6 separate regions of the Homo sapiens genome follow, and regions 2, 3, 4, 5 and 6 are each linked to region 1. The links are contacts of gene promoters, found by promoter capture Hi-C in blood cells and fetal thymus (Javierre and others, 2016). All regions are on one chromosome and are shown on one strand. Each heading gives the region's core, a stretch centred on a gene start or on the middle of the fragment in contact. The rest is flanking DNA. Distances are from core to core; before and after follow the strand shown. Region 1 holds the start of OPTN (optineurin). Region 2 overlaps NUDT5 (nudix hydrolase 5). Region 3 overlaps NUDT5 (nudix hydrolase 5). Region 4 overlaps CDC123 (cell division cycle 123). Region 5 overlaps CDC123 (cell division cycle 123). Region 6 has its middle 61 kb from the start of CDC123.

What was found. The method cuts DNA at HindIII sites, captures the fragments that hold promoters and counts their contacts. A CHiCAGO score of 5 or more calls a contact.
Region 2: a fragment that was not itself captured here is called in contact with the fragment with the promoter of OPTN in region 1 in 1 of 17 cell types (endothelial precursors); the score reaches 5.8 in endothelial precursors.
Region 3: a contact is called between a fragment that was not itself captured here and the fragment with the promoter of OPTN in region 1, in 1 of 17 cell types (endothelial precursors). The highest score is 5.7, in endothelial precursors.
Region 4: a fragment that was not itself captured here is called in contact with the fragment with the promoter of OPTN in region 1 in 2 of 17 cell types (naive CD8 T cells and endothelial precursors); the score reaches 5.6 in naive CD8 T cells.
Region 5: a contact is called between a fragment that was not itself captured here and the fragment with the promoter of OPTN in region 1, in 1 of 17 cell types (endothelial precursors). The highest score is 6.5, in endothelial precursors.
Region 6: a contact is called between a fragment that was not itself captured here and the fragment with the promoter of OPTN in region 1, in 3 of 17 cell types (megakaryocytes, endothelial precursors and naive CD4 T cells). The highest score is 7.6, in megakaryocytes.

Annotation. Positions count from the first base shown.
Region 1 is chr10:13,096,520-13,101,517 of GRCh38, forward strand. It overlaps OPTN (optineurin), which reads left to right and starts at 3,644. Exons shown (of 15, transcript NM_001008212.2): 1 at 3,644-3,783. It also overlaps a transcript of CCDC3 not described here. RefSeq lists silencers at 2,920-2,979, 3,450-4,019 and an enhancer at 4,300-4,429. The HindIII fragment of the contact is 12,315 bases long and covers 1-4,998 here.
Region 2 is chr10:12,167,606-12,172,603 of GRCh38, forward strand. NUDT5 (nudix hydrolase 5) reads right to left here. Exons shown (of 10, transcript NM_014142.4): 8 at 3,295-3,303; 9 at 3,112-3,165; 10 at 1-206. The coding sequence ends at 97. It also overlaps a transcript of SEC61A2 not described here. Among named protein-coding and RNA genes, the nearest start is that of NUDT5, 26 kb to the right of the region's middle. The HindIII fragment of the contact is 293 bases long and covers 2,238-2,530 here.
Region 3 is chr10:12,185,636-12,190,633 of GRCh38, forward strand. NUDT5 (nudix hydrolase 5) reads right to left here. Exons shown (of 10, transcript NM_014142.4): 2 at 594-697. The coding sequence starts at 656. Among named protein-coding and RNA genes, the nearest start is that of NUDT5, 7.8 kb to the right of the region's middle. RefSeq lists an enhancer at 4,443-4,998. The HindIII fragment of the contact is 591 bases long and covers 2,064-2,654 here.
Region 4 is chr10:12,205,442-12,210,439 of GRCh38, forward strand. CDC123 (cell division cycle 123) reads left to right here. Exons shown (of 13, transcript NM_006023.3): 3 at 4,526-4,583; 4 at 4,849-4,881. Among named protein-coding and RNA genes, the nearest start is that of CDC123, 12 kb to the left of the region's middle. The HindIII fragment of the contact is 8,609 bases long and covers 1-4,998 here.
Region 5 is chr10:12,222,888-12,227,885 of GRCh38, forward strand. All of the region lies in intron 6 of CDC123 (cell division cycle 123), which reads left to right. Among named protein-coding and RNA genes, the nearest start is that of CDC123, 29 kb to the left of the region's middle. RefSeq lists enhancers at 2,819-3,754, 3,755-4,688. The HindIII fragment of the contact is 5,961 bases long and covers 1-4,998 here.
Region 6 is chr10:12,254,275-12,259,272 of GRCh38, forward strand. No RefSeq gene overlaps it. Among named protein-coding and RNA genes, the nearest start is that of CDC123, 61 kb to the left of the region's middle. The HindIII fragment of the contact is 2,765 bases long and covers 1,165-3,929 here.

The sequences.
Region 1 (4,998 bases), core at 2,394-4,893:
TTTCGGGCACCACTGGGGTCTGGAGAGGGGAGGTCTCCTTCCCTACGGCCATGCAAAACTCCAGGAGGGCTTTTGGTACCCATTGAAGTAAGGGCCATTTATTTTTCAGCCCAGCAACATTGCCACTGATACCCTCATTATCAAATGGTTCTTCTAGGGAACAGTCTCTGCTGTTTCCAATGACAAGCCTGGGCAGCAGAATCTGCGGGAGGTTCCCAAAGTCCAGTAGGTGCATCCCAAGAGCTTGCTGTCTGTCTGGGTGCTGCAGGGACTGAGGCTTGAGTCCTTGATGCTCATAAGACCACCATCCCACTCCTCCTCCCAATCTGGGGGCGGGGGAGTCACTCCTCCCTCCAACTGTTGTGAAAGCCTCCACCCCACCCAGCTCTGGCTCTTCCTCCAGGACATCTGGGGTAGATCATGGATGTATTGAGATCAGGCTTTCTCAAAAGACAAGAAGAAAGGCTGTACTTCTAAGAGCTGTTGCCAGGAGTCCAGCCAACGCTCCTGAAGGTAGGAAGCCCAAAGGGACTCGTTGCTAACTCCAAACAGAGGAGATTGGGGTGGAAAGGGAACACAAGGAACATCAAACCCAGATTAGGATCTCACTAAAAACCTTCCCACACTGCTCTACATTTACCCACCACAAAACCACATCAACAAATCAGCTAAGAGCATGCTATTATTTCAGTTTTTTCGCTGCATTTAGATTCCATCTACCCATGGAAGTGTGCAGGAAGATGGAGTCACCAAACGGGATGATCCAGGCTAAGAAACAGAACCGGCTCTAACACAAGCAACAGCAACAAACACCATGAGCCAGGCGTTCTTCTAGGTGTTGAAGACGTATTTCCTCTTTAATCTTCTCAGCATCCTTAGGTGAGGGCTGTGGGTCCAGAGGCCTTATCTAAAATTTTTGGGTGGCTGGGCACCGTGGCTCACACATGTAATCCCAGCACTTTGGAAGGCCGAGGCAGGTGGATCACCCGAGGTCAGGAGTTCAATACCAGGCTGGTCAACATGGCGAAACCTCATCAATACGAAAAATGCAAAAATTAGCTTGGTGTGGTGGCACACGCCTGTAATCCCAGCCACTTGGGAGGCTGAGGCAGGAGAATCACTCAAACCCAGGAGGTGGAGATTGCAGTGAGCTGAGATTATGCCACTGCACTCCAGCCTGGGCAACAGAGTGAGACTCCACCTCAAAAAATAAAATAAAACCTTTGGGGCAAGCTCTGCTTTAGAGTCCAGAATTCTGGGGATTTTCAAAAGGCTATTCAATAAATGGGATTTATATCACATAACACCCTGACACTGTCTGACGCAGTTCTCCTATCAACTATTCGATTTTCCTTCACAAAACAAATTTAAAAATCACATCAAGGGATCTAAATAAAGACTGTAAATAGCTTTCCATCAGTTGGGTCTGGTCAGAAAAGAGGTTTGGTCCTTAGAACTTTCTGGATTTGGGAGTGTACTATACTCCCCATTTTACAGATAAAGGGAATGAGGAAGGGTAAGATGAAGTAACTTGGTCAAGGTCCTACAGCTAAGAAGTGGTTGTCGGGGGAGTGTGTGTGCATGTGTGTGTGCAGTGCTTCAGGGCACCCCCCACCCCGACCCCACCACTGAGAGCAAGGAATCAGGAGAAAACAACTTTGACTGCTTTCTGTACCAGAAACTCACCTCGAGCCTCCCACACCAAAGCCATGGGCAGCTTGTGGGTGACCTTCTTCTCTTGGCTCTGAGTTTCACTGATGCTCATTTTAATTCACTTTCATAGTGTTGTTTTGTTCTCGTTTTTGTTTTTGCTTGAGACAAAGTCTCCCTCTCACCCAAGCTGGAGTGCAGTGCTGCAATCACAGCTCATTGCAGCCTCTCCCTCCTGGGCTCAAGCGATCCTCCTGCCTTGACCTCCCAAAGTGCTGGGATTACAGGTGTGAGCCACCGTGCCCCACCTATAGGGTTTTAAACAGTAAAAGGAGCCTAGTGAAGTACGACTTACCGCAGGCACCCCTTACAGGCCCCGGGGGGACCCTTTTCTGCCGATCCCAGGGTACAGCTGTGACACCGTCTTTTCTGCCTGGATTATCCCAGTAGATAAACAAAAATTAGAGATCGTCATTCCATTTCTCTCTGTATATATTTTTCCAAGCCCTTTTCATGAATGATCAGTTATTTCCTGCACTGATTTTTTTTTTTTTTTTTTTTTTTTGAGACGGAGTCTCACTCTGTCACCCAGGCTGGAGTGCAGTGGCATGATCTCGGCTCGCTGCAAGCTCTGCCTCCCGGGTTCAAGCGATTCTTCTGCCTTAGCCTCCCGAGTAGCTGGGACTACAGGAGAGTACCATCATGCCCGGCTAATTTTTGTATTTTTAGTAGAGACAGGCTTTCACCATATTGGCCAGGCTGGTCTCGAACTCCGGACCTTGCGATCTGCCTGCCTTGGCCTCCCAAAGTGCTGGGATTACAGGCGTGAGCCACCGCGCCTGGCCCTCCTGCACTGATATAAAAAGAATTTTTTTAAATTCTCTATTTCTCCCCACTCCCACCCCCAGGCTCACTCCTTATAAAGCAGCCTCTAGCCTCATCTGCCCCTCCTACACCACACCAACTCGAGGGCCCGGAATTGGGTCTGGGGCAGTCGCTGACTTGCTTGCTTCTCTGCCCTGCTCTTGGGGTTAGCCTCAGGGGCAGGGTTGAGAGTCAGGCTTGGCCAGGCAGCAGGAGGTCCAGACAGCGAAGCAGAATCCTTCGGAGATACCAGGAGAGGGCGCATCTGCCTTTTTCCTGTTTCAGATTAGGTTTTGTTGTTGTTGTTTTGTTTTTTTTCTCTCCCTCTCTCCCTCCCTCCCTCTCTCCCTCCCTCTCTCCCTCTCTCCGTCCCTCCCTCTCTCTCTCTCTCCCCCTCCCTCCTTCCCTCCCTCCCATCCCTGCAGCGCTACCCGGGTACTCTGGATGCACATAGGGCGGCTCTCGCTCCTACCTTGTCATCCTGCTGTCTAATCCGGGGGCAGCTTCCCTCCTCCACACCAGCAGAGGCTATTCTTCAGCAACAAGAATAGCCGAGCCTATTCGTCCGCAACAAGAGCCCAAGAAGCATCCTGCAGGCTTTCTGCTTTTTGAGTGTATTTTAAAGCAAAAACGAGTGGAAAGCTATGTATGCTCAGTTAACTATGTCTAGATGTTAACCTTTTTTCAAAAAACACAGATGGAGGCCTCCCTCCGAGGATGCCTGGCATTCTCCTCTTTCTGTGGGCGGCAGCGACCCCCTGCGGCTCCAGCCTCCACTACGGGATCTGCGGGAAGACACGGGGAAGACGAACTCCGCACACTGCATTTGATTAATGATTTATTTTGATTAACGCCGTCACAGTGACGCCTTAGAGCAGTCCCTGTTCACCCGGGTCCCAGCCTCGACCCCGCACGGACAGCGAGGGTGGGTAGCTGGGGGCGGACGCAGGAAAGAGGAGGGGCGGGGCCTTGGTCGGGTGGGGTATGGAATGGGCAGGGTGGGGGGGATGGGCGGGGTATGGGATGGGCGGGGCCCGGGAAATTCCCCGGCGCGGGCAGGGAGCGGCTGGCTGTCAGCTGAGCCGCGCTGGGCGGGGTCGCCAGGCCGCGCATCAGCCCTAGGCACCCCAGTCCCGGCTGCCCCCTCCGCCACCGCCGCCGCCCGCCGGCAGGTTCCCTGGTCAGCGTCCCATCCCGGTCGGGAGTTCTCTCCAGGCGGCACGATGCCGAGGAAACAGTGACCCTGAGCGAAGCCAAGCCGGGCGGCAGGTGAGCCAGGGCAGGGGGCTGCAGCGGTGGGCGAGGGGGCGGCGGCTCCTTCCCGGCGGGCGCTTCCGCGGCCTGAAAACGGTACCCGCCGCCCTGCCCCGCGGCCCGGAGCCTGTCGGGGTGAGGGTGGCGAGGGGTGGGGCGGCCCTCCCGCGAGACGGCTGCCCTGGGAGGATCCCCAAGCCTCGGCGGGTCCTGACCTGGTGGGAGAGGGTGGGTAGTGAACACAGGGTGGGCCCAAGAAGGGTCCAGGGCCGGCCTCTTGGCCGCAGGTAACCCCTCTACAAGTCACCCAGAGACTTGGAGGTGACGTCCTCCCGCAGGCTGGGAAGGATTCCGCAGCCAGTTCCTCGCCATAAGGAGGTGGTTACAGACACGCCTGTGGGAGACATGGGACCACTACCCGAGCTGAATGAGGTGCCCAGGGTCGGTGGGAATCCACATAGACTGCTGTGTCTAGGAGAGTGTGTACACTCTATATAGAGAGAATATTTGATGAGGCCGAGAACCCCAAAGGAATTGTTTTTGCCATCGAAATGCATAAGCTACAGGAAGTAAACATCGCTCAAAGAAAATGAAACCCAGGTTCCGACCTGGCCTCCACCAGCAGGAAAACTGTTGTATGGAAATGTACACCAAGGAACTGTTTGTAAGGATGAAATGGAAAATGAAAGCATAGAAAAGTAAGGCAATGTGAGGACCTCAGAAGCCTTTGGATCTGGTTAGCAAGGTGCAGGCTGTGTGAACAGAAGAACCCACCTTGCTCTTTTGACCCAGGGAGAGAAGAGTTAGTGGTGCCAGGCTGCCTCCCAGGACAGGCCCAGTTTTGGGGCGGGGGCTGGAGAAGTCCCAGGGCAGACCCCAAGGCCAGGGATTGCCCTGGAGTGGACAAGGCAAGTTTAAATGTGACCTGTAGACAGAGGACGATCATTGATTTAAGTCCTGGCATAATTCATCTGTTTTTCCACTGGGCCAATTTTAGGCGTTCTTTATATATTACGTACAACACAATAAAAGTAACAGCTTCTTTTTTTATAAACTAACCTTTAGGTTGCATATTATGCTAGGAATATAACTAACCTAACCTCCACCCCCCCACCCCCCCACCCACCCCCGGAAAACCAAACTTTATTCTCGAGGGCAACTGGACACTGTATTATGTCCTGCCGAACCCCCGCCCTTACTTAGGTAGAGGCGCATAAGTATTCTGGCCAT
Region 2 (4,998 bases), core at 1,134-3,633, 930 kb before region 1:
AATGGCAAATCTACATTAAACTAAGTTGAATACAAAGTCTTAGTGAAGAAGGCCTGGTGGTCTCGTTTACAAAAATGGCCAGTGTCATATTTGGGCTTAAAATTTCAAGAAGGGCACTTCAAATGGCTTTGCATTTGCATGTTTCAGTGCTAGAGCGTAGGAATAGACCCTGGCGTCCACTGTGAGATGTTCTTCAGCTACCAGAGCTGTGGAAAGCAAAGAAAACAACTTAGATCATGCCGTTAAGGAAGGACAAAACATCTTATTCAATCAGTGTTTGCGCAGCAGGTACTACTATATGTCACTTCCTATGCTAGATGCTGGTGATAACGTTTTTTTTGGTCTATAAGGATCTTAAAGAATAAAGACTATAAAGGCAAGATTACATTCCTAGCATGAGACAAGAACATCAGGGATAATGATTTTTTTTTTTTTTGGTGAGACAGTCTCGCTCTGTTGCCCAAGCTAGAGGGCAATGGCGTGATCTCGGCTCACTGCAACCTCTGCCTCCTGGGTTTAAGCGATTCTCCTGCCTCAGCCTCCCCAGTAGCTGGGACTATAGGCGCACGCCACCACGCCCAGCTAATTTTTGTATTTTTAGTAGAGACGGGGTTTTTGCCATGTTGGCCAGGATGGTTTCGATCTCCTGACCTCGTGATCCACCCGCCTCAGCCTCCCAAAGTGCTGGGATTACAGGCGTGAGCTACCGCACCCAGCCAGGGATGATTTTATGTGTGAAAACAGCAAAGTTGGAAGTGTATAGAGCCAATCGCTATACCTCATTTATAGCTGGGGTAGGGCTTTGCTTTTCTGAAACCAGATGGTGATGATTATGTAGGATCTTAGGGATTCCATCTTTTCTGCTGCTAGGGGATACATATGTTCCCCCGGCAAGTTAAACTGTGTGCATGTTAGGACTGGAGATCTACTACCAAGAATGCGGTCTCAGGACCTTATTACCACAGGCTTTCATTAAAATTTGTTTCACTCAGATGGAGGTTGCCAGATGTAAAATCAGCCTCTTGTTTTCCTAGCCGCTTGTTTGGGAACAAGCCTGGGGACATTTGCAGGCAGGAAGCATGTCCTACTCACCTGGGCACAGCAGGTGCTTGGTAACTGGCAGATGCTACTCTTTGTAGCAAACTGATCTTTTTTTAATTTTTTTTTTATGTTTTTGAGATGGAGTCTCACTTTGTCGCCAGGCTGCAGTGCAGTGCCACGATCTTGGCTCACTGCAACCTGCGCCTCCCGGGTTCAAGCGATTCTCCTGCCCCAGCCTCCTGAGTAGCTGGGACTACCGGCATGTACCACCATGCCTGGCTAATTTTTGTATTTTTAGTAGAGATGGGGTTTTACTATGTTGGCCAGGCTGGTCTGGAGCTCCTGACCTCAAGTGATCAGCCTACCTCGGCCTCCCAAAGTGCTGGGATTACAGGCGTGAGCCACCGCACCCGGCCAGCAAACTGATCTTAAAATGTAATACTTTCCTTCCGACTTCTCAAATGTTGCTGGTTGAATAAACGGTTTGATTACTGTATTTTGATTCTGCTAAAGCTAGGCAACTTGGTTCTTTTACCCCTCCTCCTTTATAGCCATAGTAGCCCTCTCTCCACCTCCCCTCACTTATTCTATTTTTTTCTCCCTTTTCTAAGACCAAAAGTGAAGTTAAGAAGGTGGAAGGGAGAAGGAAGACATTTTACAAAAAGGATACTCTTCTACTAAAAGATAACCCCGCACGGCATTTCACACTTGCCTACGTCACCCTGCTTTCCACGCACCTCCTCAGAGGGAGGGGCTGTTATTGTTCCTGTTTTATGAAAAAAGCCGAGAGAGGCTACAGAACCTGTTTGATGTGATAGCTAATTATGGTCCGCGGAGCCTCAAACCGAGTCGGGCCTGTGACTCCGAGCTGCGCTGCCTCGTATTGATTGTCATGCCTTTCTCCAAATACGCACCAGATAAACTATTGTATCTATTCAGTATGATTGTTCTAACTCTGGCTTTGAGCTGTCGAGGTGGCTTCTACCTTAGGTCTAGTTTTTGGAAAGGTGAAGCAGGAGTGGAAGCTCTCTAAGGGATACGAAATCTGATTTTATCCAAAGAAATCACAGCAGCCTTTGAAAGACACATTCAGATTTTCAAACAAACAACAGACAATTCAAAACCAGGCGCTCTGCTTATTCACTGAAACCGTAAGCTGCTGAAACTCAGGGAAAAGCTTAAGAAACTGGTCTTAAAGCTTCAGGCCAAACAATGCTTCAAATCACATTTGAAGTAATCACTTAAAAACAGTAGAAAAATCAGTTATCAATTACCTAAAACACTTATACCCAATAAAATATTCCCATGATGACAAGTGTCTGCTTCTTTCTAGATGAGTGAAAGGGATTTGCCAGCCCATACAGAGGTGCTCCTTGAAGGGCCCATGGTATGTCTCCATACAGTATCTCCTCGTCTCCACACAGTATCTCCTCATGTCTCCATACAGTATCTCCTCTCGTGGTTTTATCAAAGGACTTTTCTCCCCATAAGCTTACTGTTTACAAAGTCTCTAAAAGATGGGTGGCCAAGAATTATACAATGCATCTACATGACCAGTGATTTCTAAGGGCCACACAGCTGGTTTGGTTTATTATGTGAAAAGCATATCACACGGAGTATACAGGAAATACCTCAAGTATTTGTTGAAGGAGCATCATCAATTTCTCCTTGAACATACAGCCTCCACAAAGGACCATCCCTCATACTAGCATACTTGAGGAAAAGCTAACAGCTTATCTACCCACACCTTTGCATTGCTATGGACTGAAGGTTTAAAGTGTAGAATCGTTTTGGCTACTCAGCAGGAATGTCATCTGGGCCATTCTGTAGGAGAAAAAGCCTCTACCAAAAGTTTGCACTTGACCCAGAATGCTTTGCTCTTATTTTCAAACTCTGTGCCACCCAGAAAGGAAAATTAGTAGTGGTCACCTGCAGTTTTACAAGTTGCTAGGCATTTGACTTTAGTGATACAAAAAAGATAAAGAAATGGAGTTATATTTAGTACCCAGTTTGCTGGGATGGGGACGGGGAGAACTGGAGAAACTGGGTGGCGGTCTGGAGAATGCTTACCATCAAGTCTCTGCAGCAGGTCATTCTTGGGTAAAGAAATGACTTCCACAAACTCTAAACAGACAAAGTGCAAGTGAAAACAAAGCTAACGTCAAGAGCCTACCAAAACAACCCAAAATGTCTGCAGCCATCACCACTACACTAAGTCATACACGCTCGGCCACCAGGAGTTGCAGAACATACCTCCATCCCCTGGAAATAAACAGAAGGAAAACATTTCAGCAAGGCCTGGAGTGGTAACATCGGAAGACTTTTATACAAGAGGCGTCAAAAAGGCTTTGAGAATTTCACAGAAGCCTGGGTTTCTGCTAACTTAATTTATATACATTGTCAAACTCGAGCAGTATGAAGTTATTGTTCTCCACATAATGTTAAGTAGCAAAATTTAAAGCATATTCGATAGTATGTATATTTTTATAGATATGAATCTGCGTATTATGTAAAATATACAGAACATATAAAAACTTACCTTTTAACCACTATGAAGGTACAATTCAGTAGCATTAAATAACATTCAAAAAGGTGCACAACCACCACCAGTATCCATCTCCAGAACTTTTCATGACACCCAACAGAAACTCGGGATCCACTCAACACTAATTCCCCATCCCTAGTAGCGCTTACTCTACTGTCTTCCTCTATCAGTTTGTCTATTCTGGGCACCCAGATACGTAGAATCAGAGTATTTGCCCATCATGTTATCGCATGTTTCAGCGTGTATGTGTGTTTGTGTGTATACCACACTTTGTGGATGCATTCATCTGCTGGCAGACACCTGGGTTGTTTCCACAGAGGCGGCCATGAACACAGGCACGCAAGTATATGAGTCCCTGTTTCACTTCTTCTGGGTGTAGACTTAGGAGATGAAATGCCAGATCATATAATAATTCTGTATCTAATATGCTGAGGAACTGCCAAACTTTTCCACAGTGTCTCATATGTATATGTGCAGTTCAAAAATTAAGATTTATTTTATTTATTTATTTATTTATTTATTTATTTATTTATTTATTTATTTATTTTTTGGAGACAGGGTCTCAGTCTGTTGCCCGGGCTGGAGTGCAGTGGTGTGATCTTGACTCACTGCAACCTCCGCCTCCTGGGTTCAAGTGATTCTTGTGTCTCAGCTTCCCGAGTAGCTGGGATTACAGGTGCGCACCACCATGCCTGGCTAATTTTTGTATTTTTAGTAGAGTCAGGGTTTCACCATGTTGGCCAGGCTGATCTCGAGCTCCTGACCTCAAGTGATCCACCCACCTCAACCTTCCAAAGTGCTGGGATTACAGGCATGAGCCACCACGCCCGGCAAAAAATAAGACTTAAAATTAGTTGCAGTGGGATACTGAAACATAAATATGAACAACTGAAGAGGGTAAGAAGTTAAAGAATATCACTGATACTGATTTACTGTGGTGCACATATAAATACCCCCTTTAAAAGGATGGGAGAGACAACACGGAATTGACAGAGACATCACAGCTTTTGAATCCAAAGTTGCTAAGAAATATTATAGAGCAAAGAGAAATAGTGAATAATCTGCTGCCCGTTAACAATTACTTAGGCCATTTTTTTTTTTTTAAGAGAGACATGGTCTCATTCTGTCACAGAGTGGCACCATCATAGCTCCTCCAACTCCTGGGCTTAAGTGATCCTCCTGCCTCACCTTCCAGAGCAGCTGGGACTACAGGGGAACTTAGGCCATTCTTAAAATATACATGAAGACAGAAACCAGGGTGATTTAAGTTTCTCACTGTTTACTACTTAAGCCTGCAGCTCATATTACTAAGTGGGAATACACTTCATATAGAAAACAGGGAAATATGTCATTTAACATTTTTTTACAAAGAAAGCGTAAAGATGAATGAAGTGGCAAAAGAAAAATGCTAA
Region 3 (4,998 bases), core at 1,109-3,608, 910 kb before region 1:
AACCTAATCATTTTCAGCAGATCTGTTCACAGACAACATGGAAAGATTTTAAACCAAAAGGAATTCCAGAAAGGTGTCAAGATCAGAGATCCAAGATGAAGGATTTAAAATTTATCCACTGCAATGGTTCCTGCAGGAAGAGACTTTTAAAGCTAAATTGAATAACACAGAGACATACATTGGTTCTAGAATTCACTGGAATTTAGACTACAATTAACAACGTAGGTTTTTATTGTTCTTAAACACTCATGTTAGGCCATCAACAGCCAAGTTGTGACAACTACATATGAAATATCTGAGTCCGCAAATGCATATATTCTTTCTTCTTCTATCTAGGGAAATACAGGAAGGATTAAGAATTTTTCTGTTAAGAGCCCAAATCTCCTAGAGTCTCAATTTCACTAATACACAGAGAGACACACTACTCCTCCCACACAAGAGCAAAATGTGCCCGAGCCCAAAAAAGGGAGTAGGAAAAATCTTTACAACTGTCTTCAAGAATGAAAGACCACCATTGTAACAACAGTCTATATATTTCTGCTAAACTCAGATTTATGTGGGGGAGGGAAGGGAAAGTGAAAAACAAGTTATACCTCCTCTGAAATGATATACTGTTTGCCATTCTGAGAAGATTCCGTTGGTTCTTGGCTCTCCATTTTCAAACGAGTCTTTACAGCCCTCAGGTGAGAAGTTCACCCTGCAAGATAATGAGATTTGTTCAGGCTAAAATTATTTTTCTGAATTAAACATTCGTCCACAGGACACTAGTCAAAGTACTTAAACGGCAAAAAATTCATCTACCATCAACGCTGCCTGTCTCAGTATGTGAGGGAACTGCCGCAGGTGGAAATGTGAACAGGGAGGCCCGGGGATTAGCCAGGAAGGAAGTGACAGCAGTCCTAGTCACCCTCAGCCACAACAGCCAAGCTCCTGCCATGCCTGTTCTAGGCACTTAGAGGCCACCCTTCTTCATCAGATTTTTCTTTTTTTTTTTTTCTTTTTTGTTTTTTTTGAGAGAGTCTCACTCTGTTGCCCAGGGTGGAGTGCAATGGCGCGATCTCAGCTCACTGCAACCTCCGCCTCCTGGGTTCAAGTGATCCTCGTGCCTCAGCCTCCCGAGTAGCTGGGATTACAGGCATACATCACCAGGCCTGGTAATTTTTATATTTTTAGTAGAGACAGGGTTTCACCACGTTGGCCATGCTGCTCTCAACCTCCTGACATCAAGTGATCTGCCCTCCTTGGCCTCCCAAAGTGCTGGGATTACAGGCGTGAGCTACCGCGCCCAGCCTGATTTTTCTGACTCCGAATCTTAAACTCTTTCCAAGGGAAGACAGAAGAAAGATTTACCACTCTCCATGCCCACCTCTCAGTCTTTTATCCATCTGTTACACCTAAACTTACTTATTTTTTGAGATGTAAGATCTCACTCTGTTGCACAGGTTGGAGTGCAGTGGCGAAATCATGGCTCACTGTAGCCTCTACCTCCCAAGCTCACGTGCTCCTCGCATCTCAGCCTCCTGAGTAGCTGGGATTACAGGTGCATGCTACCACAGCCAACTAATGTTTTAAACTTTTGGTAGAGGTGGGGTCTCACTATGTTTCACAGGCTGGTCTCAGACTCCCGGGCTCAAGCGATCCTCCTCCCGCCTCGGTGTCCCAAAGTGCTGGGATTACAGGCATGAGCCACTGGACCCACCTCCCCACTTACTTTTAAGTTTCAGCATGTATCAAAGTCATAGTTGCAGAGAAAGGATCGAGTAGTACTACAAGTTCTGTTATGAAAAGAGCAGGCCCTTATCCCATTTATTGTATATTATTATTTCCTCTTTCTTTATTCCTTCATTTTCGGACCTTGCCTGTCCGAAGGTCAAAGTCTTTTTTTCTTACCCACACACATGGTTGTTAATTCAGCTGTATATAGAATTATAGACCCAAAGCCAGTTGTCTATGAAACTGTAAGGCATTGCTTAGTTGTCTTACTTCTGGTGCTGCTGTTGAGAAGTCCAAAGCTATTCTTATTCTTGATCTTTTTGCCATGTGACCTGTCTTCCTCCTCTGGAAGCTTGTAGTTAGTCACTTTCATGTCGATGTTATTGTACTGGGAAGTCAAGTGGGTCCTTTCAATCTGGAAACTTCTTACTATGCTTCTTTACAGGGAATTTTTTTCTTGAACGACTTCACTGATGATTTCCTCCCCTGTGTTTTCTCTGTTGTTTCTTTTAAGAACTGTTACTTGGACCAGGCACAGTGGCTCACACCTGGAATCCTAGCCCTTTGGGGGACCAAGAGTCTGAGACCAGCCTGGGTAACATGGCAAAACCCTGTCTCCACAAAAATAAAAAATAAAAAAATTAGCCGGGTGTGGTGGTGGGCACCTGTAGTCCCAGCTACTCAGGAAGCTGAGGCAGGAGGGTCATTTGGACCCAGGAGTTGGGGGTTGCAGAGAGCCGAGATCACGCCACTGCACTCTTACGTTCCACGGTTCTCTAACCTACCCCACCTAACTTCGGCTTCAAAGAAAATACAGCCCACCCAGCATCAACTCTCTTCCCAACTGTCCTAAAGGAAAAAGTGAGTCTGCTCTTTGTTTCTTCTGGGACCCAAAGTGATCATACTACCCATCTGATCTTCAATTTGTCCCCAAGACAGCAAGCTTCCCTATTCTAAAATACAATCAATAACAAAACCAACTGTATGAATATTCATAAAGTGCGTTTACAAATCAAATATCTGATTGACTATCATAGGTAACCCTTGTGGCCAACCTGTGAAAGGTGAGATGATGTTTTAGGAAAGTGGCGGTGAGGCCGGGTGCGGTGGCTCACGCCTCACGCCTACAATCCCAGCACTTTGGGAGGCCAGGGCGGGTGGATCACGAGGTCAAGAGATGGAGACCATCCTGGCCAACATGGTGAAACCCTGTCTCTACTAAAAATACAAAAATTAGCTGGACGTGGTGGGGTGCGCCTGTAGCCCCAACTACAGGGAAGGCTGAGGGAGGAGAATGGCTTGAACCCAGGAGATGGAGGTTGCAGTGAGCTGAGATCGTGCCACTGCACTGCAGCCTGGCGACAGAGCAAGACTCCATCTAAAAAAAAAAAAAAAAAAAAAAAAGTGGTGGTGAGAGGGACAAAGACCCTCACTCCCCCGGACCTCATTTTCCAGTGAGGAGAAAGGAAAAACAGTGAGGAAGAACACAAAATTTATGTCAAGTGACTCAGCGTTTCATGAAGAAAGATTAAAAAGGATGAGAAGTGTGGGGAAGATGGGAAGAGTAATCTACACGGAGTGATCAGGCAAGGCCTGTTTAATTTGGTGACTTCTGAATGGAGACCTGAAAGCAATAAGGAAGTAAACCACGTAGAAGTTTAAATATTTAGAGACAGACATTAGCATATTGAAACCTGCAGCCCTACTAAGAAAACAGGCACTTATTCCTTTGAAAGTACCATAGATGATAATTTATTAGGTAAACTTTTTTTTTTGAGATGGAGTTTCGCTCTTGTTGCCCGGCTGGAGTGCAAAGGCATGATCTCGGCTCACTGCAACCTCTGCCTCACGGATTCAAGCGATTCTCCTGCCTCAGCCTCCCGAGTACCTGGGATTACAGGCTCCTACCACTGCACCCGGCTAATTTTTACATTTTTAGTAGAGATGGGGTTTTGCCATGTTGGGCAGGCTGGCCTCGAACTCCTGACCTCAGGTGATCCACCAGCCTCAGCCTCCCAAAGTGCTGGGATTACAGGCGTGAACCACCGTGCCTGGCCGCTAAAAGAGAGTATTTCTTTGGAATGCAATCAGCCTCAAAGGGAAACAGTATCGTGCAGCAATCCACTGATTCCGTGAATGACAAAAATGAGCTATTTCAAGAGCATATTCTTAACTATGAGATTCCCAAACATTTCAGAAGGACTGTAAAAGTACCTCAGAAATTTTTAGAAACAGAAAAGGAATGTTGTTTTTAGCACCATTTCAAAAGCAGAAGCCAAATAGTGCCATTCGGGGGCCAGTCACTGCCAGCAACACGCTGCAGAAAGAACGAGAAATGAGCTTTAAATTCCGTGCTTTGTAAGCCAGCGTCTCCGCCACTGCAACGGAGTTTGCCTTCACTGACTCAACGCTATTTCAAGATTTAAAAGCAAACTTTGATATAAATTTTATCCACTTCATTAGTTAGAATTTAAGGTAATTTGCATATTGCCAATATGTGTATGGTATGAAAAAGATACATGTACACGATGTTGAGTGTTCTACAATTTTTTTTTTTTTTTTTGAGACAGAGTCTTGCCTTGTCGCCCAGGCTGGAGTGCAGTGGCGCGATCTCCGCTCACTGCAAGCTCCGCCTCCTGGGTTCATGCCATTCTCCTGCCTCAGCCTCCCAAGTAGCTGGGATTACAGGTACCTGCCACCATGCCTGATTAATTTTTTGTATTTTTAGGAGAGACGGGGTTTCACCGTGTTAGGATGGTCTCGATCTCCTGACCTCGTGATCCACCCGCCTCGGCCTGCCAAAGTGCTGGAATTACAGGCGTGAGTCACCGCGCCAGCGAGTGTTCTACAATTTCATTTATGATTTTCCTTAGTCTTTAAAGTCACAAGCTGTTTTAATTCTCATAAATCGTTTTAACTCAGTTCAGTTTGAACACTGAAGGTCTAGGATGTGTTGGATGTGTAATTCTCCAGAGCATAAAAAAAACACTAGTGAGGGGAAATGCTGTAAGATTTTTAGACGTCTTGCACAGTGGCAGGCTAACTAGCAGTCTCTAACTAGCTTCGAGAGCACCAGCAGTGGAAACGTCTGTGTATATACTCAGTGCACACTGACCACTATGCTTGCCCTTGAGCACGTTACAGTTTAGCAAGCACATCTGGGGCAAAGACCTGCCTCAGAGACACCACCATACCAGGATGTTTTAAAGGAGGGACACACACATCCCCTTGGGAGGCAGTGAGGAAAATGATAAAGCCTTTTTTTTTTTTTTTTTTTTGAGACTG
Region 4 (4,998 bases), core at 1,292-3,791, 890 kb before region 1:
CAAAATCCCAAACACTTTTGACCCCAAGCATTTTGGATATAGGATCCTCAACCAGTAGATGCCAATTATAAAATACATTAGGCATATTCATATTTTGATTCTTCACAATTCTGTGAAGTAGTTGCTATTTTCCCAGTTTTATAGATGGCATATTGATGCAAAGTTCTTGGCTGACAGTGGCAGAACTGAGATATTTAAACTCTGTCTGCCTGCCTCTAGAGCCACTGCTCTGGTGTGCCAGCTCTGTGTAAGTTGTAATATAGAAAATATAGCATCCTAAATATTAGCACCATACTTTATCCATTTAGTTCTCTGCATGCAGAGGGTTACCTTAGAAAGCCAAGTCTAATAAACTTTCACTTTTTTTTTTTTTTTGAGGCAGAGTCTCACTGTGTCACCTAGGCTGGAGTGCAGGGGCACGATCTTGGCCCACTGCAACCTCTGCCTACCGGGTTCAAGCGATTCCCTTGCCTCAGCCTCCTGAGTAGCTGGGACTACAGGTGCCTGCGACCACGCCCAGCTAATTTTTTTTGTATTTTTAGTAGAGATGGGGTTTCACTATTTTGGCCAGGCTAGTCTTGAACTCCTGACCTCATGATCCACCCGCCTTGGCCTCCCAAAGTGCTGGGATTACAGGCGTGAGCCACCGTACTTGGCCAAACTTGCATATTTTTATACATTGTCACCTTTTACAGTGAATAAAATTTGTCATACTTTACAGTAGGCACTGCAATAATTTCTGAAGAACTATATGAATACCTTGATAACAAGTATGTTTTTTAAAATGTATGTTGTTATACTAACAAATATGGTAAGTGATTTTTAGAGTGGTAGAATACATTTTCATATTTCATCTTATATTGTAAGATTAGGTAAGCAGCCATGTTAAAGATAATGTTGCATTTGAAAATATTATGTGGCATTTAAAGAGAGACGTAAGAGAGAAAGGCTGGCCCCTTGGGCAGGGATTCACACGCTGACAGTGTGTTAGTATTTCCACTATAGAACAGTTCTTAGCTTTGACTGGTTCTTAGCTTTGTGAATCTGGAAAAGCAAGAATTACAAAGAGTTGATTAAAACTTGGGGAAGGCCGGGTGCAGTGGCTCATGCCTGTAATCCCAGCACTTTGGGAGGCCAAGGCGGTTCGATTATCTGAGGCCAGCAGTTTGAGACCAGACTGACCAACATGGCGAAACCCCATCTCTAGTAAAAATACAAAAATTATCTGGGCATGAGGTCAGATGCGGTGGCTTATGCCTGTAATCCCAGTGCTTTAGGAGGCCAAGGAGGGCGGATCACAAGGTCAGGAGATCGAGACCATCCTGGCCAACACGGTGAAACCCCATCTCTACTAAAAATGCAAAAAAATTAGCCGGGTGTGGTGGCGGGCGCCTGGAGTCCCAGCTACTCGGGAGGCTGAGGCAGGAGAATGGCCTGAACCCGGGAGGTAGACCTTGCAATGAGCTGAAATCACGCCACTGCACTCCAGCGTGGGCAACAGAGCGAGACTCCATCTCAAAAAAAAAAAAAAAAAAAGATTGGAAGCATTATTGTATCCATTTTTGCCCATTTAAGGTATTTTTTCTCCATTTATTGTGTTAAGTACTTGGTGAGCCCTTTCATTCTAAAGACTTTAATTTTCCTGTTTCAGGATATTAAAAAAGAATCTTTGATAATTTCCTCTAATTTCTTGCTTCTCTTTCTGGATCTCCTATTATTTTGGTGTTTGATCTTTTGGCTTAATTCTCTGAATTTTATTATTTCTTCTCTATTTTCTCTTTCCGTGTCTTTTTTGTTCTACTTTGTAGGTAATTATTTTTCCATTCTATTGAATTTTAAAATTTCAACTATCATGTTTTCAGTGTCTACAAGTTCCTCTGTTCCTTTTTTATAGCCTCCTGTTCTTCCTTAATGGATGTGACATCTTTTATATTCGAGGATATTAATGATTTTTAAAAATATCTTTCATCTGGTCCCTTTATTGTCTTTTTTTCTTCCATGTCCCTTTTTTCTCTCCTTTTTGAAAACGTTTTTCATCTTGGAGTTTTTTGTCTGTTTTCTAATCATTGTAGGCCTTCCTTCATATTTAAGAGTGAGGAGGACACACACAGATATTTGCAAACTTTGTGTACCTGGGTGGAGCTTGATGCCTGAGGATGCCAGCAGGCAGCAAACATTGATGGAAGATTCCCAGATAATGGTGTGTCCTCTGGGGTTGCTCAGTTTCTGCCCAGAAGAATCCTTTAATCTGTCTGTGTTGTGGGAGCAGGGTGGGAGGAAGGGGACTAGGGGTCGCAGTGTTCAGTTTGACTTTCACATAACTTGTCATCATAGTCCAGGTCCAGCATTTCACCCCCATATTCATTTGGGCCATTATGTACCTCAACCCTCTTGAGTTCATTTTTTCCAGAGAATAAATCTGCTTACCAAAGGGGCTGAGGAGAATTAGTTGCTAGGATGTGCAAGGTAAGGAGATGGATATGTCTCGCTGCTCCCTGGATGGACTTCAGAGCTTCCTTTCCATGTTCCAGGATAACTCTTAAGTTCTAACCTGTTGCTCCTTGGCTTATTCCTCCCCTTGACTTTCTGTTTTCCAAACTTTTGTTGCCCTCTTTCTTCTATGGTTGATTCCTTTTCACTCAGCATTGTCCTTGGGATCTTTTTTTTAGTAGAGTTTCCAGAGGGAACACAGAGATAAAAGCACATGTTTAACCAGAATCTTCCTTTTCCTTTTCTTTCTTTAGTCTTTGCATAGCTGCTATGCTAGTTTTTATGATTATTTTTCTCAATGATATGAGTTATTCCTAGGCTAGTTATTTGTAGTTGTGTGTTGAGGAGGGGCCAGAGTGGTGTTCTGAGTCTTCCCTCTGAGTTCTTTCAGCCTCTGATTCCCTCTAGGCAATGAAGATGGGCTGCTGGGTGGCCCTTTTCAGCCCTTGTGTTGCAGGTGAGCAGTGACTATTTGGGGCCAATGGTGTGGGTGGTAAGAAGAATTTACCATGACAGTTGGAGGCAGAGAAAGGCAAATTTATTAGAGAAAGTGTGAAAATATGTTGCAAGGGTACAATGGGCAGGTCAGCAAGAAAGGAGCTGACTGCAGGGAGACAGAGGCTTGCTGGGGATTTTATAAGATGGTACTTGTGCTGTGTCCTGAAGAGGGCTTTGTGCAGCGCTGATAATGCCAAGGTTGCAGTGAGCTCACTTGCATTTTTCTGTCAATTGAGGGTGCGGTAATAGCTGGGCATGGAAAGATAGTGAGTTACTTGCGCAGGAGGGCTGTGTGTCCTGGACCATGAAGAAAGGCAGACTTACAGCTTATCTGCCTTGTCTTTTTGCTTTCTTCTGCTCCCGCCAGTCCAACTCCTCTTCCCTAATGAGGACTGCACACCTCGCTTTGCTTCTGCCTTCTTCAAAGACAGCATGCCTGTTTATTTTCCCCTCTCTCTCTCACCCTTTGCTGTGGTTCAGTCTAGATGCAGAATGAATTTCTGACACCAGCCCGCACACCCTGTTTTCACTGTGCAAAGAAAAGATTCTTGGTTTTGCCCCCACAGTAGTTCCATCATCTGTGTAGACAGGTCTTCAGACATTCGCTTCTGGTGTCTTCCTTTATCCTATTCCATCTTTCCTTTCTTGAGAGAACTTTCTCATATACTGAGGTTCAGAGTCTAGATGATTCTCAGTATTATCAGCAATGGAGTCTTTTTTTCCCTTTCCCTTGTTTTTAATGATATCTGAGAACAGGACAGAAAGGTTTTATTCTGTCATCTCTTCATGCAACTGTACTCTCATTTATTTATTTCTTCTTTTTTTGAGACGGGGTCTCACTCTCTTGCCCAGGCTATAGTGCAGCGGTGTGATCTTAGGTCATTGTAGCCTCAAACTCTTGGGCTCAAGGGATCCTTCTGTGTCAGCTTCCTGAATAGCTGTGACCACAGGTGTTCTCCTTCACACCTGGATAATTTTTAATTTTTTTGTAAAGACAGAGTCTCTGTGTTACCCAGGCTGGTCTCAAACTCCTGGGCTCAAGCAATCCTCCCATCTCAGCCTCTCAAAGTGCTGAAATTACAGGTGTGAGCCACCATGACTGGCCTTGTTCTTCAATTTTAAGGCTTTTATTTTTATTTATTTATTTTTGAGACAGTGTTTTACGTTGTCACCCAGGCTGGAGTGCAGTGGCACGATCTTAACTCACTGCAGCCTCGACCTCCCATGTTCAAGTGATCAGTCCTCCCACCTCAGCCCCCCAAATAGCTGGGACTACAGGCGCATGCCACCTCGCCCAGCTAATTTCTGTGTATTTTGTAGAGACAGGGTTTTGCCATGTAGTCCAAGCTGATCTCTACCTCCTGACCTCAAGCGATCCACTCACTCAGCCTGCCAGAGTGCTAGGATTACAGGTGTGAGCCACCACACCTAGCCTAATTTTAAGGCTATTTAAAAACATATACTCAGTACCCCTGAAATTAGGAGCATGCGGTGCCCAAGTCCTTTTCTTTCTTGATGTTTGTTTGTGTTTTTTTAGGGATGATCCACCAACACATTCTCAGCCAGACAGTGATGATGAAGCAGAAGAAATACAGGTTGGTACCAAATAAAATAATCTGTTCTGTAGACTGTTGTAATTTAAATGATCTCTGAGATGGTTCTGACTTGTAGATCTTATCTTACATCTGATAAAATGAGAAATTACGTGAGAATCTTACTTTGACATATATTTTCACATATGCTGTATTCCGGAAAAGATGTCTCCTGTTTGATTTATAATTTTTAGATGGAGCACTGCTTTTTGAAGCCCAGTGCAGTATTTAAATTTAATGTTTTATTTTTTTCCTCTTTTTCATGCAGTGGTCTGATGATGAGAACACAGCCACGCTTACGGTAAGAGCACAGCAGACTCAGCGTGGGGACAGCCTCACACTGTCACACAAGGGTTAGCGTCAAGGTTTAAGTGCATACCTCTCTTAAATTCCTAGTCAGTCACCATCTCATATATTA
Region 5 (4,998 bases), core at 1,147-3,646, 870 kb before region 1:
TTGTCCTCTTTTTTTTTTTTTTGAGACGGAGTCTCGCTCTGTTGCCCAGGCTGGAGTGCAGTGGCGTGATCGTGGCTCACTGCAAGCTCCGCCTCCCGGGTTCACGCCATTCTCCTGCCTCAGCCTCCCGAGTAGCTGGGACTACAGGCGCCTGCCACCATGCCTGGCTAATTTTTTTTTGTATTTTTAGTAGAGACGGGGTTTCACCGTATTAGCCAGGATGGTCTCAATCTCCTGACCTCATGATCCGCCCACCTTGGTCTCCCGAAGTGCTGGGATTACAGGCTTGAGCCAGTGTGCCTGGCCCATTTGTCATCTTTCAGTGTGCAAAATATTTGGAACAGCACGAGAGAAACGGTGTGTTGATTATAATTATTATTCGTTTATGTATTTTATTTTATTTTTATTTTTTTCTTGAGACAGAGTCTCGCTCTGTCACCCAGGCTGGAGTCCAATGGCATGATCTTGGCTCACTGCAACCGCTGCCTCCCAGGTTCAAGCAGTTGTCCTGCCTCAGCCTCCCAAGTAGCTGGGACTGTAGGCGCACGCCACCACGCCTGGATAATTTTTGTATTTTTAGTAGAGACAGGGTCTCACCATGTTGGCCAGGCTGGTCTTGAACTCCTGACCTCAAGTGATCCACCTGCCTCGGCCTCCCAGAGTGCTGGGATTATAGGCATGAGCCACTACACCGGGCCTAATTATAATTATGAAGTCCACAAAAAATAGCATGTCAGTCCCAAGGCATGTTTAGGGCATAATAAATATACCTATTTATAGTAAGGCCATTTGGCTGGCAGAAAAGCTAAGTCTTCTTTGAGCTGAGGATGATTTGGGTAGTAATAAAATAAAAAAATGTGGCACTCCTTTTATTTTTTTTTGGTAAAATTATTTCAGTGTTTATTTTGCTTCTGAGTAAAGACAAGGGATGTGTAATTATCTGTCATTGACGTACACTATGTATTTCCCCCTGTATTTTTATTTTTTTATTTCAGTAGGTTTGGGGGAACAGGTGGTGTTTGGTTACATGGGTACATTCTTTAGTGGTGATTTCTGAGCTTTTGGTGCACCCATCACCTGAGCAGTGTACACTGTACCCAACGTGTAGTCTTTTATCCCTCGCCAACCCTCACCCTTTCCCCTGAGTCCCAGAAGTCCAGTGTATCATTTTTATGCCTTTGCGTCTTCATAGCTTAGCTCCCACTTACAAGTGAGAACATACGATGTTTGGTTTTCCGTTCCTGCGTTACTTCACTTGGAATAATAGTCTCCAGTTCCATCCAGGTTGCTGCAAATGCCATTATTTTGTTCCTTAAAAAAAAAAAAAAGACATCTGATTAGTCATCAGTACTAGTTAAGCATATTTCTTTAGTTTGGGGATAGAATATTTTTTCTTTTCCTTTCTTTTTTTTTTTCTTTCCTTTCTAAAAATTTGTGTCTATAACATTGCTTTCCAAAATTCCTGTTAACTGGCAAATATTAAAGTGTAGTAAAAATATGCTGGCATAATTTCATAGTAGCTTTCATCAAAGTAGGCCTTTGGGATTTTGCTTTTTTTTTCTTTGGAATAAAATCTTTGCTATTATTATACCTGAGAATTCTTTTAGTTTGCCACTTACATTGTAAATAATGTAACATTTATTACTTAATCACATTTGTGTTTATTTTAGAATTTTCATAGCTTGCTAGAGGGACTATAATTATTCTGCCAAGAATTTGAACTTTGAATTCAACATAAGAGCCTCCTTTCAGCTTAGACTACAAATTAGTGACTGTAGTTGAATACCACGTTCTTTTGGTACTTTGTTGAAAATTTCAGTTGAAGAAATCTTCCAAATTAATGTTAAATAGTAACCCAGGAAAAAAATTTGGGGAATATTTTGTGGTGGTGGTGGTTTTTTTGTTTTTGTTTTTGTTTTTTCTTGAGACGGAGCCTTTTTGTCGTGGGAAATGTGCTGAGTCCTCCAGTGACCTTGGTGGGATTTAGGGTAGCCAGACTGAGTTTTCTAGCTGAAGCTGCGGCCCTGAAGGCTATGCTTGGGGTCCGAGCTGCTCCAGTTTGATGCTTCCTTCCTTTTCCCTATTTCTTCCTTTCCCCAAGAATGGTGCAGACTTCCTGCTGAGGCCTGTAGTTGGTGGACAGGCATATCCTGGCGCTTTTCCCAAGAACCCCTTACAGAGCTTGAACTGCAGCTACTCCTCAGAATAATGATTTCTAAAATATGGGCTGGGTGCGGTGGCTCACATCTGTAATCCCAGCACTTTGGGAGGCCGAGGCAGGTGGATTACCTAAGGTCGGGAGTTTGAGACCAGCCTGACCAACTCGATGAAACCCCATCTCTACTAAAAATACAAAAATTAGCTGGGCTTGGTGGCACACGCCTGTAATCCCAGCTACTTGGGAGGCTGAGGCAGGAGAATTGCTTGAGCCCGGGAGACGGAGGTTGCAGTGAGCCAAGATCGTGCCACTGCGCTCCAGCCTGGCCACGGAGTGAGACTCTGTCTCAAAAAAATAAATAAATGAATAAAAGAAAAGAAAATATGTGTCTAGTCCCCATCTTGGACACTTTGGATTGGAATCTCTGGGGAAGTATTTTGAAAAATCATCTCATTCCACTCTCTCATTTTCAAACCTGTGTTCTAGAAGCTCTGACACACCCTGAGGTTCAGCGTGCAGTAAGTAGTTAACTGAATATAAAGACAGGGAAGAAAAAGCGGGCCTGACAAGTTGTCTACAGATTTGATTGCATAATGAACTTTAGAAATCACCCAATACCATCTGCCATTTACTGCTGAGGCAACTATGAGCCAGTCCCAAAAAATAATTGACTTTTCTCTTTTTTTTTTCTAGCTTCTCTCTTTTTTTTTTTTTTTTTTTTTTTTTTTAGTATTTATTGATCATTCTTGGGTGTTTCTCAGAGAGGGGGATTTGGCAGGGTCATAGGACAATAGTGGAGGGAAGGTAAGCAGATAAACATGTGAACAAGGGTCTCTGGTTTTCCTAGGCAGAGGACCCTGCGGCCTTCTGCAGTGTTTGTGTCCCTGGGTACTTGAGATTAGGGAGTGGTGATGACTCTTAAGGAGCATGCTGCCTTCAAGCATCTGTTTAACAAAGCACATCTTGCACCGCCCTTAATCCATTTAACCCTTCGTGGACACAGCACATGTTTCAGAGAGCACGGGGTTGGGGGTAAGGTTATAGATTAACAGCATCCCAAGGCAGAAGAATTTTTCTTAGTACAGAACAAAATGGAGTCTCCCATGTCTACTTCTTTCTACACAGACACAGCAACAATCTGATTTCTCTTTCCTTTCCCCACACTTCCCCCCCTTCCACTCAACAAAACCGCCATCGTCATCATGGCCCGTTCTCAATGAGCTGTTGGGTACACCTCCCAGACGGCGTGGCGGCTGGGCAGAGGCGCCCCCCACCTCCCTCCTGGACGGGGCGGCTGGCCGGGCGGGGGCTGCCCCCCACCTCCCTCCCAGATGGGGCGGCTGGCCGGGTGGGGGCTCTCCCCCACCTCCTGGAGGGGGCAGCTGCTGGGTGGAGACGCTCCTCACTTCCCAGACGGGGCGGCTGCTGGGCGGAGGGGCTCCTCACTTCTCAGACGGGGCGGCCGGGCAGAGAGGCTCCTCACCTCCCAGACGGGGTGGAGGTTGGGCAGAGACACTCCTCAGTTCCCAGACAGCGTCGCGGCTGGGCAGAGGCGCTCCTCACATCCCAGACGGGGCGGCGGGGCAGAGGCGCTCCTCACATCCCAGACGATGGGCTGCGGGGCAGAGGCGCTCCCCACATCTCAGACGATGGGTGGCTGGGCAGAGACGCTCCCCATTTCCTAGACGGGATGGCGGCCGGGAAGAGGTGCTCCTCACTTCCCAGACTGGGCGGCCAGGCAGAGGGGCTCCTCACATCCCAGACGATGGGCGGCCAGGCAGAGACGCTCCTTGCTTCCCAGACGGGGTGGCGGCTGGGCAGAGGCTGCAATCTCGGCACTTTGGGAGGCGAAGGCAGGCGGCTGGGAGGTGGAGGTTGTAGCGAGCCGAGATCACACCACTGCACTCCAGCCTGGGCAACATTGAGCACTGAGTGAGCGAGACTCCGTCTGCAATCCCGGCACTTTGGGAGGCCGAGGCTAGCAGATCACTCGCGGTTAGGAGCTGGAGACCAGCCCCACCAACACGGCAAAACCCTGTCTCCACCAAAAAAATACGAAAACCAGTCAGGCGTGGCGGCGTGCGCCTGCAATCCCAGGCACTCGGCAGGCTGAAGCAGGAGAATCAGGCAGGGAGGTTGCAGTGAGCCGAGATGGCGGCACTACAGTCCAGCCTCTGCTCGGCATCAGAGGGAGACCGTGGAGAGAGAGGGAGAGGGAGAGATAGACCATGGGGAGAGGGGGAGGGGGAGGGGGAGGGGAGGAATAATTGACTTTTCTAAGACCATAAAATACTAGTACGGAGCCCAAGGTCCTGATTGTGATTTTTAACCTCTGGTCTATTGTTCTCTTACATTCATTGGAACGTTTTCCTTTTCTCCTTATGTAGATTATCTAATCTAAAATATTCATTTGGCTCTATACTGGATATGTGTACAAAAGTAATTTTCTGTCTTTTTTTTTTTTCTTTATGAGACAGAGTCTCACTCTATTGCCCAGGCTGGAGTGCAGTGTCACGATCTCAGATCACTGCAACCTTCAACTCCTGGGTTCAAGGGATTCTCGTGCCTCAGCCTCCCAAGTAGCTGAGCTTACAGGCATGTGCCACCATGCCCAGCTAATTTTTGTATTTTTGGTAGAGATGGGGTTTCATCATGTCGGCCAAGCTGGTCTCAAACTCCTGACCTCGTGATCCGCCCACCTCAGCCTCCCAAAGTGCTGGGATTACAGGCGTGAGTCACCGCACCCAGTCCAAAAATAATTTTCTTAAATAATAGAAAACGTATAGAGGAAAGCTCTAGATACATGTAGTACTTATCAATATGCTGATCCTTGGGGGCGA
Region 6 (4,998 bases), core at 1,297-3,796, 840 kb before region 1:
CAGGAGAATCACTTGAACCTGGGAGGCAGAGGTTGCAGTGAGCCAAGATTGTGCCACTGCACTTCAGCCTGAAACAGCAAGATTCCATCTCAAAAACAAACAAACAAAAAGATTGAGGAACAGAAATCTAAGACATCGTAACAAAAATGTAGTGAAGAAATAGCTAAAAGTTATACGGTTAGGCAAAAAGTCTGGCATGAATGACCTAAAGAGAGAATGCATTCAGGTGCGTCTTTTTTTTTTTTTTAATCAAAGAAAACCAAAATAAAATGATACTGGCAACATAGTAAGACCCTGTCTCTAAAAAAAGTTGTTTTTTTTTTTTAAAGACAAATTAGCCAGACATGCTGGTGCATGCCTGTAGTCCTAACGACATAGGAGGCTGAGGCAGGAGGATCGCTTGAGCCCAGGAGTTCAAGGCTGCAGTGAGCTATGATCTCACCACTGCACCGCCTCCCCTCCCCGCGCAAAAAAAAAAAATAGATAAAAAGGAAAGAAAGGAAGAGTCCTGGCGCGGTGGTTCACACCTATAATCCCAGCACTTTTGGAGGCCAAGGTGGGTGGATCACCTGAGGTCAGGAGTTTGAGACTAGCCTGGCCAACATGGTGAAACTCTGCCTCTACTAAAAACACAAAAAAATTAGCCAGGCATTTTGGCACGTGCCTGTAATCCCAGCTACTCAGGTGGCTGAGGCAGGAGAATTGCTTGAATTTGGGGGGTGGAGGTTGCAGTGAGCCGAGATTGTGCCACTGCACTCCAGCCTGGGCAACAGGCACAGAGCCAGGCTGAAGCCCTAGTGTTCTCCAAACTGTCACCCCAGACTCACAATATGTACTAGATAAATTGCAGGTCGTCTTCTTTTCTTCCTTCCAACTGAGTTCATTCCCCCACCCTCCCTCTGTTTTCTCCTCCTAAGAAGTCATTTTGTTCAGCCACAGTTTATAAGCAGGGCCCACTGTTTAGGTCTGAGGAACAGGACAGGGTTGTACTAAGCACTTAGGCAATGATTCTTATCTGGGAAGGGCTGACAGCTTATTCTTTAATGTCTACAAATTGCTTTGAAGACAAAAAATGCTACAAAAATGTCAAGTAATGTTATTGCTTTTAGGAACATTTGTTTTCCACCTTGTGAAAGGCATATATCTCAGGTCAATGAAAGCTCAAGCTTCCAAAGCCAGACTGAGTTTCTCTCACTTACAAAAGAAGCATAGCCTCCTTTGCATGTATTGGTAATGCTGAGAGCATTGGAGTTCTTAGTTCTTTACAAAAAAAAAAAAAGTCACCAAAGAAAGAGGACACCAGGAGGCCGGGCACGGTGGCTCATGCCTGTAATCCCAGCACTTTGGGAGGCCGAGGCAGGTGGATCATGAGGTCAGGAGATCAAGACCATCCTGGCCAACATGGTGAAACCTCGTCTCTACTAAAAATACAAAAATTAGCTGGGCGTGGTGGCACATGCCTGTAATCCCAGCTACCTGGGACCCTGAGGTAGGAGAATCACTTGAAACAGGGAGTCGGAGGTTGCAGTGAGCCGAGATCGGGCCACTGCACTCCAGCCTGGCGACAGAGTGAAACTCCGTCTAAAAAAAGAAAGAGGACACCAGGAGCTGGACGCAGTGGCTCAAGCCTGTAATCCCAGCACTTTGGGAGGCCGAGGCGGGAGGATCAATTGAGGTCAGGAGTTCGAGACCAGCCTGACCAACATGGCGAAACCCCCGTCTCTACTAAAAATACAAAAATTAGCCAGGCGTGGTACTGGGCACCTGTAATCCCAATTACTCGGGAGGCTGACGCGGGAGAATCATTTGAACTCAGGAGGCACAGGTTGCAGTGAGCCGAGATCATGCCATTTCACTCCAGCCTGGGCAACAGAGCGAGACTCTGTCTCAAAAAAAAAAAAAAAAAAAAAAGCGCCAGGTAGGGACATAGGAAAGAAGGAATGGAGAGGAAGGAATACTCTCAAATACTTTTTTTTTTTTGGAGACTGGGTCATGCTCTATTGCCCAGGCTGGAGTTCAGTGGCATGATGATAGCTCACTGCAGCCTCCAATGGCTGCCCTCAAGCGATCTTCCCAACTCAGCCTCAGATGTAGCTGGGACTATAGGCACACACCACCATGCCTGGCTGATTTTACTTTCATTTTTTTTGTTACCCAGGATGGTTTGGAACCCCTAGACTCAAGTGAACCTCCCGTCTCAGCCTCCCAAAGTGCTGGGATTACAGGCATGAGCCACGATGCCTGGCCACTCTCAGGTCCTCATGGGGAAATAAATGGAGTATAAATGGATACAGCATTGTAAACAGACAATTTAAAAGACAGTCCGTGCAGAAAGGTCACTGGTACCTCTCAATGAGTTTATAGGTATGAGGAGTGAAAAGGACATCATATGGCCACCTCTCATCACCCTTGGTGGCCACAGACTTGTCTTTTTTGAAATCAAAATGAGAATGTCCAAATCAATCTTTTTTTCTGGCCAGCAGGGGGGAAGGGGGGATGGAGTCTTGCTCTCGTAGCCCAGGCTGGGGTGAAATGGCACAATCTTGGCTCACTGCAATCTCCGCCTCCCAGGTTCAAGCAAGTCTCCCATCTCAGCCTCCCTGGTAGCTGAGATTACAGGCACCCGCCACCACGCCCGGCTAATTTTCGTATTTTTAGTAGAAACGGGGTTTCGCCTCCCAAAGTGCTGAGATTATAGGCATAAACCACCGCGCTAGGCCCGAATGAGTCTTAAGAAAGGAGAGACAAAGATCCCAGGGTATGATTTGCTCACTTCTGGATTTTGAATGCAAAATAATGCTCCCCCAAAACTCGAATAATGGGAAGAAGTATGGTCAATCAGTTAAGCAGTTTTGGTTGCAAACAACAGAAACTAACTCTAGTTAATGAAAGCATGTACTGGAAGGATGTGAGGTGCCTCAGGAAATTGGCGCAAAGTGTGTAAGCTCCACAGAGAGAACGGAGACTGGGAAAACTTTGGAGACGCAAAAGACACTATCCCAGGACTTAGCTACTAGAGAGATTCTGCCTTCTGTCCTGATGACACTGGGCTCAAGATTCAGTATCCGGCTGGGTGCCATGGCTCACGCTTGTAATTCCAGCACTTTGGGAGGCCAAGGCGGGTGGATCACCTGAGGTCAGGAGTTTGAGACCAGCCTGGCCATCATGGTGAAACCCCATTTCTACTAAAAATACAAAAATTAGCCATGTGTGGCAGCGGGTGCCTGTAATCCCAGCTACTCGGAAGGCTGAGGCAGGAGAATTGCTTGAACCTGGGAGGCAGAGGTTGCAGTGAGCCGAGATTGCACCATTGCACTCTAGCCTGGGCAACAAGAGTGGAACTCCATCTCAAAAAAAAAAAAATTAAAATTATTTTTTTGTCTCCCAGGCTAGAGTGCAGTGGCATGATTATGACTCATTGCAGCCTCAATTTCCGAGGCTCAAGCTATCTTCCCACCTCAGCCTCCTGAATAGCTGGGACTACGGGAATACACCACCACGCCTGGCTAATTTATTTTTATTTTTAGCAGAAACAAGGTCTTGCCATGTTGCCCAGGCTGGTCTTGAACTCCTGAGCTCCAGCAGATCCTCCTGCCTCAGCTTCCCAAAGTGCTGGGATTACAAGCATGATCCACAACGCCGGGACCCTTCCCAGTGTTCTCTATGATCCTTTCTGCATCTCCATCCAGTACCCTCAGGACCTCACATCTGTCTGTCTGTAATAACCAACCAGTTGGGCTTGCAAACCTGCTTCTATCTTCCTCCTGCCTTTCTTGTTTGATATAGATTCCATATACCCCATGTAATTTCACTCTGATCTGTGTAAACTTATTTTCCACGACCCTTAAAACATCCTCAGCTCCCAGCAAGTCTGCCTTCTCCATGTTCTTTCAATATCCGCGGCATTCCTGCTTGCTGCCTCCCCTCGAAGCTTCCTGCTCACCTGGAATATGAATGCCCTCCTTAAGCTCATCTGTTCATTTAGGCCAGAGATTCTCAGTCTTAGTCGTATATTCTTTTTCTTTTCTTTTTTTTTTTTTAGACGGAGTCTTGCTCTGTCTCCCAGGCTGGAGTGCAGTAGCGCGATCTTGGCTCACTGCAAGCTCCGCCTCCCAGGTTCACGTCATTCTCCTGCCTCAGCCTCCCAAGTAGCTGGGACTACAGGCGCCCGCCACCACACCCGGCTAATTTTTTGTATTTTTAGTAGAGACGGGGTTTCACTGTGTTAGCCAGGATGGTCTCGATCTCCTGACCTCGTTATCCACCTGCCTTGGCCTCCCAAAGTGCTGGGATTACAGGCTTGAGCCACAGCACCCGGCCATATACTCTTTTTCTTTTTCTTTCTTTTTTTTTTTTTTCCACATAGAAACAGGTATGTGCATTGGGTGGGGTGGGGGGGGGGTCTTGCTATGTTGCCCAGGCTGGTCTCAAACTCCTGACCTAAGGATCCTCCCACCTTGGCCTCTCAAAGTGCTGAGATTACAGGCATGAGCCACTGCACCCGGCCCCTAGTTGTGTATTCTAATTACCTGGAGAGTATTTTTTTCTTAATCAATGGAGAATACTCATCCAGACCAATTAAACTGAAATCTCTGGGGCCCAGTAGTTTGTTCTTGTTTTTGTTTTTGTCTTTTGCTTTTGAGAGGGAGTCTCCCCTCTGTTGCCCAGGCTGGAGCATAGTGGTATGATCTCTGCTCACTGCAACCTCTGCCTCCCGGGTTCAAGTGATTCTCCTGCCTCAGCCTCCTGAGTATCTGGGATTATGGGTGCCTGCCACCACACCCGGCTAATTTTTGTATTTTTAGTAGAGATGGAGTTTCACCATGTTGGCAGTGGTTGGCCAGGCTGGTCTCAAACTCCTGACCTCAGGTGATCTGCCTGCCTCGGCCTCCCAAAGTGCTGGGATTACAGGCATGAGCCACCAGCTGGGCCCAGTAGTTTGTTGTTTATGTTTGTTTGTTTGTTTTGAGACAGAGTTTCACTCTTGTTTCCCAGGCT